Regions from separate parts of the Homo sapiens genome. Here all the other regions are linked to region 3. Evidence: promoter capture Hi-C in human tissues and cell types (Jung and others, 2019). All regions are on one chromosome and are shown on one strand. Each heading gives the region's core, a stretch centred on a gene start or on the middle of the fragment in contact. The rest is flanking DNA. Distances are from core to core; before and after follow the strand shown. Region 1 has its middle 14 kb from the start of PACSIN3. Region 2 overlaps CELF1 (CUGBP Elav-like family member 1). Region 3 holds the start of MYBPC3 (myosin binding protein C3).

Region 1 (2,863 bases), core at 52-2,551, 150 kb before region 3:
GTGTGCCTGGAGCCCCAGCTACTCAGGAGGATGAGGCAGGAAAGTCACTTGAGCCCAGGAGTTTGAGGCCAGCCTAGGCAACATAGTGAGGCCTCTCTTGCCTCTATTTCCTTTAAAAAATGTAAGAGGAGGCCAGGTACAGTGGCTCACGCCTGTAATCCCAGCACTTTGGGAGACTGAGGCAGGCAAATCACCTGAAGTCAGGAGTTCAAGACCAGAATGGCCAACATGGAAAAACCCTGTCTCTACTAAAAATACAAAAATTAGCCAGGCATGGTGGCGCACACCTGTAGTCCCAGCTACTCGGGAGGCTGAGGCAGGAGAATTGCTTAAACCTGGAAGGTGGAGGTTGCAGTGAACCGAGGTCATACCACTGCACTCCACCCTGGGTGACAGGGCCAGACTCTGTCTCAAAAAAGGAAAAAAAAGGCTGGGCGCAGTGGTTCATGCCTGTAATCCCAGCACTTCTTTGGGAGGCTGAGGCAGGTGGATCACGAGGTCAGGAGATGGAGACCATCCTGGCTAACACTGTGAAACCCCGTCTCTACTAAAAATACAAAAAAATTAGCTGGGCGTGGTGGCACGTGCCTGTAGTCCCAGCTACTTTGGGAGGCTGAGGCAGGAGAATTGCTTGAACCCAGGAGTTGGTGGTTGCAGTGAGCCCAGATCGCACCACTGCACTCCAGCCTGGGCGACAGAGTGAGAGTCTGTCTAAAAAAAAAAAGGTAAGAGGGGCCAGATAAAGGGGGTGATTGGATGGCAGGCAGAAGAATCATTAATTATACTGACATTTATTTAAAATCTACTCTCCTCCTCACTGTTTCAAAGGGAACGCTCAGCCAGGCGTGGTGGCTCATGCCTGTAATCCCAGCCCTTTGAGAGGCTGAGGCAGGAGGATCACTGGAGCCAGGAATTCAAGATTACAGTGAGCTATGATCATGCCACTGCACTCCAGCCTGGGTGACAGAGCCAGACTCCTGTCTTTTTATTTTATTTTTTCCTGCGAGACAAGGTCTCATTCTGTCACCCAGACTGGGATGCAGTGGTGCGATCTCGGCTCACTGCAACCTCCACCTTCCAGGCTCAAGTAATTGTCCCCTGTCAGCCTCCTGAGTAACTGGGACTACAGGCTTGCATATGCCCAGCTAAGTTGTTGTTGTTGTTGTTATTGTTGTAGAGACAGAGTCTCACCAAGTTGCCCAGGCGGGTCTCAAACGCCTGGGCTCAAGCAATCTGCCCACCTTGGCCTCCCAAAGTGCTAGGATTACAGGTGTAAGCCACTGTGCCCGGCCTAGACGCCTGTCTTAAAAAAAACAAAAACAAAAAAGAAATGCTGAAATGGAAAATACTCTTTGCTCCCAATGGACTGTCTCTTCTAAGAGTGGGAGACAAGTAAACCTACAACTACAATGGAACGCGATAAGCTTGCTGAGAGAAGAGGCATGGAGGGAGGGGGGGCACAGAAAAGGGGCACTTTAAGTCAGCTTAGGATGGGGTAAAGAATGAACAGTGTTGGCTGGGCACGGTGGCTCATGCCTGTAATTCCAGCACTTTGGGAGGCCGAGGCAGGCAGATCACCTGAGGTCTGGAGTTCAAGACCAGCCTGACCAGCATGGAGAAACCCTGTCTCTACTAAAAATACAAAATTAGCTGGGTGTGGTGGCACATGCCTGTAATCCCATCTACTCTGGAGGCTGAGGCAGGAGAATGGCTTGAACCCGGGAGGTGGAGGTTGCTGTGAGCCGAGATTGCGCCATTGCACTCCAGCCTGGGCAACAAGAGCGAAACTCCGTCTCAAAAAAATAAATAAATAAAAAGAATGAACAGTGTTGGCCGGGCGTGGTGACTCACACCTGTAATCCCAGCACTTTGCAATCCCAGCACTTTGGGAGGGTAAGGCAGGAGGATCACTTGAGGCCAGGAGTTCAAGACCAGCCTGGGCAACATAGCAAGACCATGACTCTAGAACAAAACAAAAAAACAAAACAAAAAAATACTGGGGCATGGTGGCTTGCACCTGTAGTTTCAGCTACTGGGGAGGCTGATGTGGAGGGACCACTTGAGTTCAAGGCTGTAGTGAGCTGCAATTATGCCACTGCACTCCAGCCTGGGCAACAGAGAGAGACCCTGCCTCAAAAAAAAAAAGAAAAGAAAAGAAAAGAAAAGAAAGAAAGAAAAAGGAAAAGATAGTGTCAAGGAAGTCTTCCCAAAGAAGGTGACACTTAAGCTGAATCTTGAGATTGATCGAGGGGGAGGGGGAGGGTGCTCCAGGCAGAGGCAGCAGGAAATGCATGGGCAGGGAGGCCGCCTCTAGCTATAATGGATTTATGAGCAAGGCAAATGTCCTGCTTAATGCCACATTTTCCCAGAATGCATTTTTAGGATTTGAGAGGTTTTCCATGGTGGATAGAAAGAACCATGTGCGGGCCAGGCACGGTGGCTCATGCCTGTAATCCTGGCACTTTGGGAGGCCAAGATGGGTGGATCACTGGACGTCAGGAGTTTGAGACCAGCCTGGCCAACATGATGACGCCCCATCTCTACTAAAAATACAAAACTTAGGTGTGGTGAACCTGTAGTCCCAGCTACTTGGGAGGCTGAGGCAGGAGAATCACTTGAACCTGGGAGGCAGTGGTTACAGTGAGCCAAGATCGCACCACTGGACTCCAGCCTGGGCAACAGAGGGAGACCATCTCAAAAAAAAAAACAACAAAAGAACCATGTTCGAGCAGTGGAGACCTGCCTTGCACACTCCAGTAAAGCGCTTTGTTTCAGGCTGTGCTTTGAGGCATCTTAACTAACCCCAGGTTTTACTTCGGCTCCCTTTGCTACATAGCAAAACCACTTCCTAGGGGCTTAAAGT
Region 2 (3,082 bases), core at 334-2,833, 150 kb after region 3:
ATATCAAGTGCACCTTTATGTAAATAACTTAAAGCCTTGAGGAAATAAGCAGTAATGAGACAGACTACAATTGAAAATAATAGCATGAGAGAATTCAGGTTGTTTTGGCTTCTTTCCCCATTTTTCTCTTCCCCTTCTTAAAAAAAGGAACCAATTTCATCAAATAAAGAAAACAGCCCAGTTCCTCTGCTTATGATAAAAATTAGACAACAAAAATACTTACACGGGACTGGAATTCAAAGAGCAATGATCCACCATCATTTCTGGAAGGAAATCCAACTTAAACGCAGCCATCACCTCACTCTCCCCTTCAGAAGCCAATGATATTAACTTGCTGCACTTGTCTGATCCACAAATACACACAGCTTTAGCTTCCTGGGCCCCACAAAAAACACAAAGTGGAAACAGGAGCTCAGGGAAACCAGCAATAAGTGCCACAGAAAGAGGCAGGACTGGGGAAGGGGTAGGGAAAGGGAGTATTGGATTAAAATGGGGATGTGACCATGTGAAGGGAGGCTCAGCCCAGCACACAATGAAAGTGCTGATGCGCCAGGCTTGTTTTGTGCAATTTTCCCTGGCGAAGCAGTACTAAGTGCACTGTCAGATAAATAGTGTCAGATCCATGAAGATAGCAGTGGCTAACAGAGCAGAAGAAACACAAACTTGTTTCACATCCTCCAAACTCCTCCCTGCAAACCAGTTTTTAAGGTCCCCCAAAGCCTGAAACTACCTGAAGCAAGAAAAGGCTCACCGAAGAAATGGGTTGTTAGCCTTGCTTTTAAACTTACGTTTCCATGTGCCAAAGACAGCAATGAGCACAGTGCTTAGGTCCAAACTAACCTCAGAACAGTCACATAAAGAGGAATGATAAGACCATCAGAAGCAGGCCAGAGGCAAACTGGTTGAATAAACTGGCCACCAGAAACTTACCACTCACATACAACTGCCTACAGTTGATCAGCCTTGCTTTTTTTTTTTTCTTGATATTTTCAAAAGAGCATCAATTTCTCAACTGACCTTGCTTTCTTGATGTGCTATCTAATGGTTAGAGCAAGGTGTGCTATCTAATGGTTCCTCATCTGGGTGAAAGACTTCAAAAATCCTTTGTTCAGTAACACTCATTAGATGGCACAGGGAAATTTTCTTTACTAACTCTGAAGCTTCATCTGCCAGAAAATAAAAATGGAATAGTAATATTCTGCTTCTTACTAGCATACTAGGAAATAATGTATTTTCAGTTCTCTGTTGTCCTTTCTAAAGAAACAAAGAACAAAAGCCACTTTAGTGATAATAATGAAAAAGAACTAGGGCCTACCAGGGACAACACTCAAACATGTAAGGGAAAAACCAAGAAATGAAGTCTCTTCATTCTCTTTTTCCTCCTTTAAACTGTTGATAAAACCAAGACTAGTGAGTGCACACATAAAAATTCTATTATGGGTGAGCAGTAGAGATGGATATACTTAGCAGTCAAGGCAGATGTGTGCTCCCGTTCTCAATTTAGCTCCACATCCCCCCAAACAACAAATGGCGGCATTTCAATATTTAGGCAGTGACTCTAAAATGTTATCTCTGAAGGCTCCCAAATTTCACAGGCTTTCTTTCCATTTTTATCATTAGAGTTGCCTTACCTCAAAGATTTCACTTCACCCAAGCTCAGTTCACAACACAGGGAACTTTGAAAAAAAGAAGTTATGTTCAGCCTGCAAAGAAGTAAAACGAATGAACTACTAAACACACAGAGTTAACGTTAAAAAAAAAAAAGAAAGGCAACACACAATGGCATAGGCCTAGAAGTTCTAATCTGTGTAACAATGGCTAACATCTGTCTGCACCTGACCCAGGAAGGTGAAAACTGTCTCTTCTGTCCATGTCCAGACGTCATCATCCAAAATCTAGAACTGTACTGTAACAGCAGCTTACTGCTTTTTCTATTTTTGCCAGAGACTCGCTCATCTGATTTACTACTATAGAGGCAGAAGTGGCAGGAGCTCTCTTCCACCCTATTAAAGCGGCAAAAACAAACTGCAAGTGAGAGGAGACTGTGCAACTGACACACAGTACACAGTTTACCAAGCCCATGCCTGTCAGGCAGAAGATGGTAACCCTAGCTGGGGCTGGTTAGATTACTGGCTATGTTTGTCCTAGTTTCTCCTACGTACATTGGAACTGATGGCATGCCTCTTCCTATAGAAAGCTGCCTAGACCAAAGAATAACTGAGTCGACAACCAAATTAGATCTTTTAGTGCAAGAATTCCTCTAAAAAGACATTCCAGGCTTTAAAAAGGCTGAGCAACAACAGCTCATGGTGGCTCACGCCTGTAATCAATCCCAACACTTTTGGGAGGCCAAGGCGGGCGGATCACCTGAGGTCAGAAGTTGAAGGCCAGCCTGGCTAAGATAGTGAAACCCCATCTCTACTAAAAAATATCAAAAAAAAAAATTAGCTGGGCGAGGTGGCACACGCCTGTAACCCCAGCTACTCGGGAGGCTAAGGCAGGAGAATAGCTTGAACCCAGGAGGCAGAGGCTGTGGTGAGCTGAGATCACGCCACTGCACTCCAGCCTGGGCGACAGTAAGACTCCGTCTCCCCCACCAAAAAAAAATCCTTTAAAAAGGATTCAATAAATTTCAAGGAACTTACCTAAATTTCAAGGTTATTGTGTTTTTAATATTTCCTAAAAACATATGAAATCTAATTGTATCTCTAGTTCAAATCAGAATCACATCTATAACAAAAGACTACTTAAATGGAGACATTACTGAGTTGCCAGGCACTGTCCAATGTATGAAAAGATGTGCTCTCCTTAAAATAGTTTCCACCAAGCCAAGGGCTGGGAAATATGATTTAGAGTAATGTCTTAAAATCATTTTTTCCCAGTCATAGAACTTTTGTTCAAAAGAAGTCTCCAGAGGCCCAATTTATAAAGCAGTTGAAAATAGAAAGCAGGGCCCATAAATTCTCTGTGCTTATACTGCTATTAAAGTCCATTTTATGATTTATAAAGCAACACCGCTTTAAAAACCTACAAGATGGAAATGTTATTACATGAAAGAGGGCACTTCTTCTCAGGCAGGTCA
Region 3 (3,076 bases), core at 309-2,808:
TGAAAGCACCTCCTGTTCCCTGGATGGATGGAGAGTCGCTGGGCTGCCCCTCCCCCAGCAGCCCAAACCTCAGGGAAGGCTGATCAGGATCTTACCTGCCTCTATGACCTTGAGGTCGAACTTGACCTTGGAGGAGCCAGCAATGACTGCGTAAGATCCCTGGTCGGCAGGGCCCACTTCCCGCACTGTCAGCGTATGCCGTGTGCCCTCTGTGGCCAGGCCGTACTTGTTGCTGGCGCTGATGTCACTGCCTCCGCGCTGCCAGCGCACCTTCACTCCTGCCCGCTCTGTCTCGGCCTCGAACACGGCAGGGCTGCCTGCGGCCACTTCCACTGACCGTGGCTTCTTGCTAAAAGCTGAGACTGAAGGGCCAGGTGGAGGCTACAGCGGCCCCTGGTTGGAGCGTGCACCCCGCCCCTGCAGCCCCTCTCAGTAAATACTGTGCTAGCACTTTCTATGCATCCCCTCACGTAATACTCTACCAGTTCTCTGAGGTAGTTGCAGTTATTCTGTTCATTTCTCAGAGGAGGACACTGAGGCTCAGAGAAGCTAAGCGGCTCCTCCAAGATCACACAGCTAGCAGTCGGGAGAGCCAGGGCTGTGGTCCTGACCTCCCAACAAGACTTTTTCTGCATGTGTCCACTTTCCCTGCTTGGAGACACCCGTGATGAACCCAGCTCCCTTTCCCCCAACCATTTCGGGCCCTTGGCAGGGGGCGGGGAAGTCTGCCTACTTGGAATGTGGCCAAATTTGTCCTCCAAGGACCTCAGGCTGGGTATCAGCAACTGAGATAAAGCTGGCCTGGGAGGGCGCTGGGGGATGGGGACCTGGATCTCTGCCCTGGACAACCTTCATAAGGGCACAGCCCAGGCCCAGGTCCCTGGGCTGTGATTTTCCCTGCCCTTGGCCTGGGTTCAGGGGCTCCTGACTGTCCTCTCTCAGAGAAGAGGGGCTGTGTCACCCTCAACATGGGGGCCACACCGTACAGGCTCATGAAGCAGATAATGTCACAGCCAGGAGGAACCAACCCAATGCCACCACCACCCCCGGCACCCCAGGTTGGGAGACTGAGACCCATAGTGGGTAGAGACTGGTCTGAAGGCATGCCGTGAGCCTGGCTCAGCTCCATACTAAACGTGGGCTCTGTCCGCGGGGAACCTTGCTGTGGAAGGTGAAGGCAATGGGACAGGGAAGGGGTCCCTTTGCATTCTCAGAATGGGTTGACCCCGGGTGCTTCCTGTCTTGGCTGTGTCCCCTCTCTGCGTCCCTGACCTTGGGTTTACCTTCACCTCTCATCAGAGGGATGGGAAAAAGAAACCGAGAATCAAAAAAGGACCCTGGAGGACTGGCTGCCCCTGTCCTGGGGCTCAGAGGCCACGTCCTCGTCAACCCCCTCAAGAACTCCCTCCTAGCCCTGCTCCCCAATTGTAGACACCCCCCTGCTCCCACACTTAGACCCAACCCCAGTCCTAAAGCTACCTGGCTTCTTCCCCGGCTCAGGCATCCTGAGAGACGTCACACCAGGCACGAAGCAGGCACAGGTCACCCAAAGAGGGACTGAGTGGGGTCCTGTCCTTCCCACTATATATGGGGACCTCCCCCCTCCCCAGGCTCTGCTTATCTGCCTCCTGTCCAGCCACCTGCTAAATATAGATGAATTCCAGAGAGCTGAGGTCTCTCCAGGGAGAAGGTAGGGCCACATTGTCCCTGGCTGGCTCCTGTCCCTTCCCCCCTCACCCCCCGCAGCACAATTCTGCCTCCCCAACCTTTGGCAAGCCTCAGGGGTACTCCAAGCCCCGTGTGTGTCCCTCTTACAGCAAATTGTACGGTGGGAGCATGCTGGGCCCATAACCCTAAGGCTAACGGGTCAGGAGCATCCTCGCAGGCAGTTCAGGCAGTGGTCATGTCCACAGACCCTGGGGCCAGGGTGTCTCTGAGTCCTAGCACTGCCATCTCTTTAATCTCAAAGCACCTGGTTTCCTCATCTGTAAAGCGGGGTGGGTGAAAGCAGCACCCACTGCACAGGATTGTCACACGTATGAAGTGGGTTTATAATTTTAAAAATGTTAGGCCGGGTGTGGTGGCTCATCTGTAATCCCAGCACTTTGGGAGGCCGAGGCAGGCAGATTATTTGAGGCCAGGAGTTTGAGACCAGCCTGGGCAACATGGCAAAACCCCATCTCTACTAAAAAAATAAAAAATAAAATAAATACACACACACACACAAATTAGCCAGGTGTGGTGGTGTGGACCTGTAGTATCAGCTACCCAGGAGGCTGAGGTGGGAGGATCGCTTGAGTCCAAGGAGTTCCGGGCTGCAGTGAGCCAAAATCGCACCACTGCACTGCAGCCTGGGTGACAGAGTGATAATAATAATAAAAATATTATTTATTATTATTTTTTATTATTAATATCTCAAAGAATAATAATAAAAAAATAAAAATGGGCTGGGCGAAGTGGCTCACACCTGTAATCCCAGCACTTTGGGAGGCTGAGGCGGGCAGATCACTTGAGCTCAGGAGTTCGAGACCAGCCTGGGCAACATGATGAAACCCCATCTGTACAAAAAATACAAAAATCAGTCAGGCATGTGACGCACACCTGTAGTCCCAGATGCTCGGGAGGCTGAGGCAGGAGAATCACTTGAGCCCGGGGGGTCAGGGCTGCAGTGAGCCATGTTCGTGCCACTGCACTCCAGCCTGGGCAACAAAGTAAGACCCTGTCTCAAAAAAAAAAAAATAAAAATAGAAGAATGAAGACACAACACCATTTTGCCTTCTCTTGTGGCCCTGCAGTAGGACTAGGGAGCTGCAGGGTTGGGCTGCAGTGAGCCCTCTGGGGTTGAGGAGGTGTGGGGCGGGTATTTGTCCCTACGATAATGGCCCCAGAATCTGGGTTCCCTAAGGTCTTTGACAGCGTTGGGAAGTCCCTCACTCCCAGGCTGTCTACTGCCACTACTTGCTACCGTCTGGAGGAAAACACAGGACTTACAGGCTTCTCCGCTCAGCTTGGTCTGTTTCTCCCCTGCTGTGGCTAGGAGCTAGAAAGCAAATAGAACCTGGGGGTCCCACCAGGG

The links. Contacts are between HindIII fragments. The study calls those that stand out against the background at their distance.
Region 1: a fragment that was not itself captured here is called in contact with the fragment with the promoter of MYBPC3 in region 3 in 1 of the 25 tissues and cell types used here (spleen).
Region 2: a fragment that was not itself captured here is called in contact with the fragment with the promoter of MYBPC3 in region 3 in 3 of the 25 tissues and cell types used here (adrenal gland, hippocampus and mesenchymal stem cells).

The regions. Positions count from the first base shown.
Region 1 is chr11:47,198,947-47,201,809 of GRCh38, forward strand. No RefSeq gene overlaps it. Among named protein-coding and RNA genes, the nearest start is that of PACSIN3, 14 kb to the left of the region's middle. The HindIII fragment of the contact is 2,521 bases long and covers 42-2,562 here.
Region 2 is chr11:47,499,230-47,502,311 of GRCh38, forward strand. CELF1 (CUGBP Elav-like family member 1) reads right to left here. Exons shown (of 15, transcript NM_001376376.1): 2 at 1,632-1,703; 3 at 224-375. The coding sequence starts at 294. Among named protein-coding and RNA genes, the nearest start is that of RAPSN, 52 kb to the left of the region's middle. The HindIII fragment of the contact is 7,858 bases long and covers 1-3,082 here.
Region 3 is chr11:47,351,144-47,354,219 of GRCh38, forward strand. MYBPC3 (myosin binding protein C3) reads right to left here and starts at 1,559. Exons shown (of 35, transcript NM_000256.3): 1 at 1,480-1,559; 2 at 96-362. The coding sequence starts at 1,504. RefSeq lists enhancers at 1-202, 203-1,183. The HindIII fragment of the contact is 22,693 bases long and covers 1-3,076 here.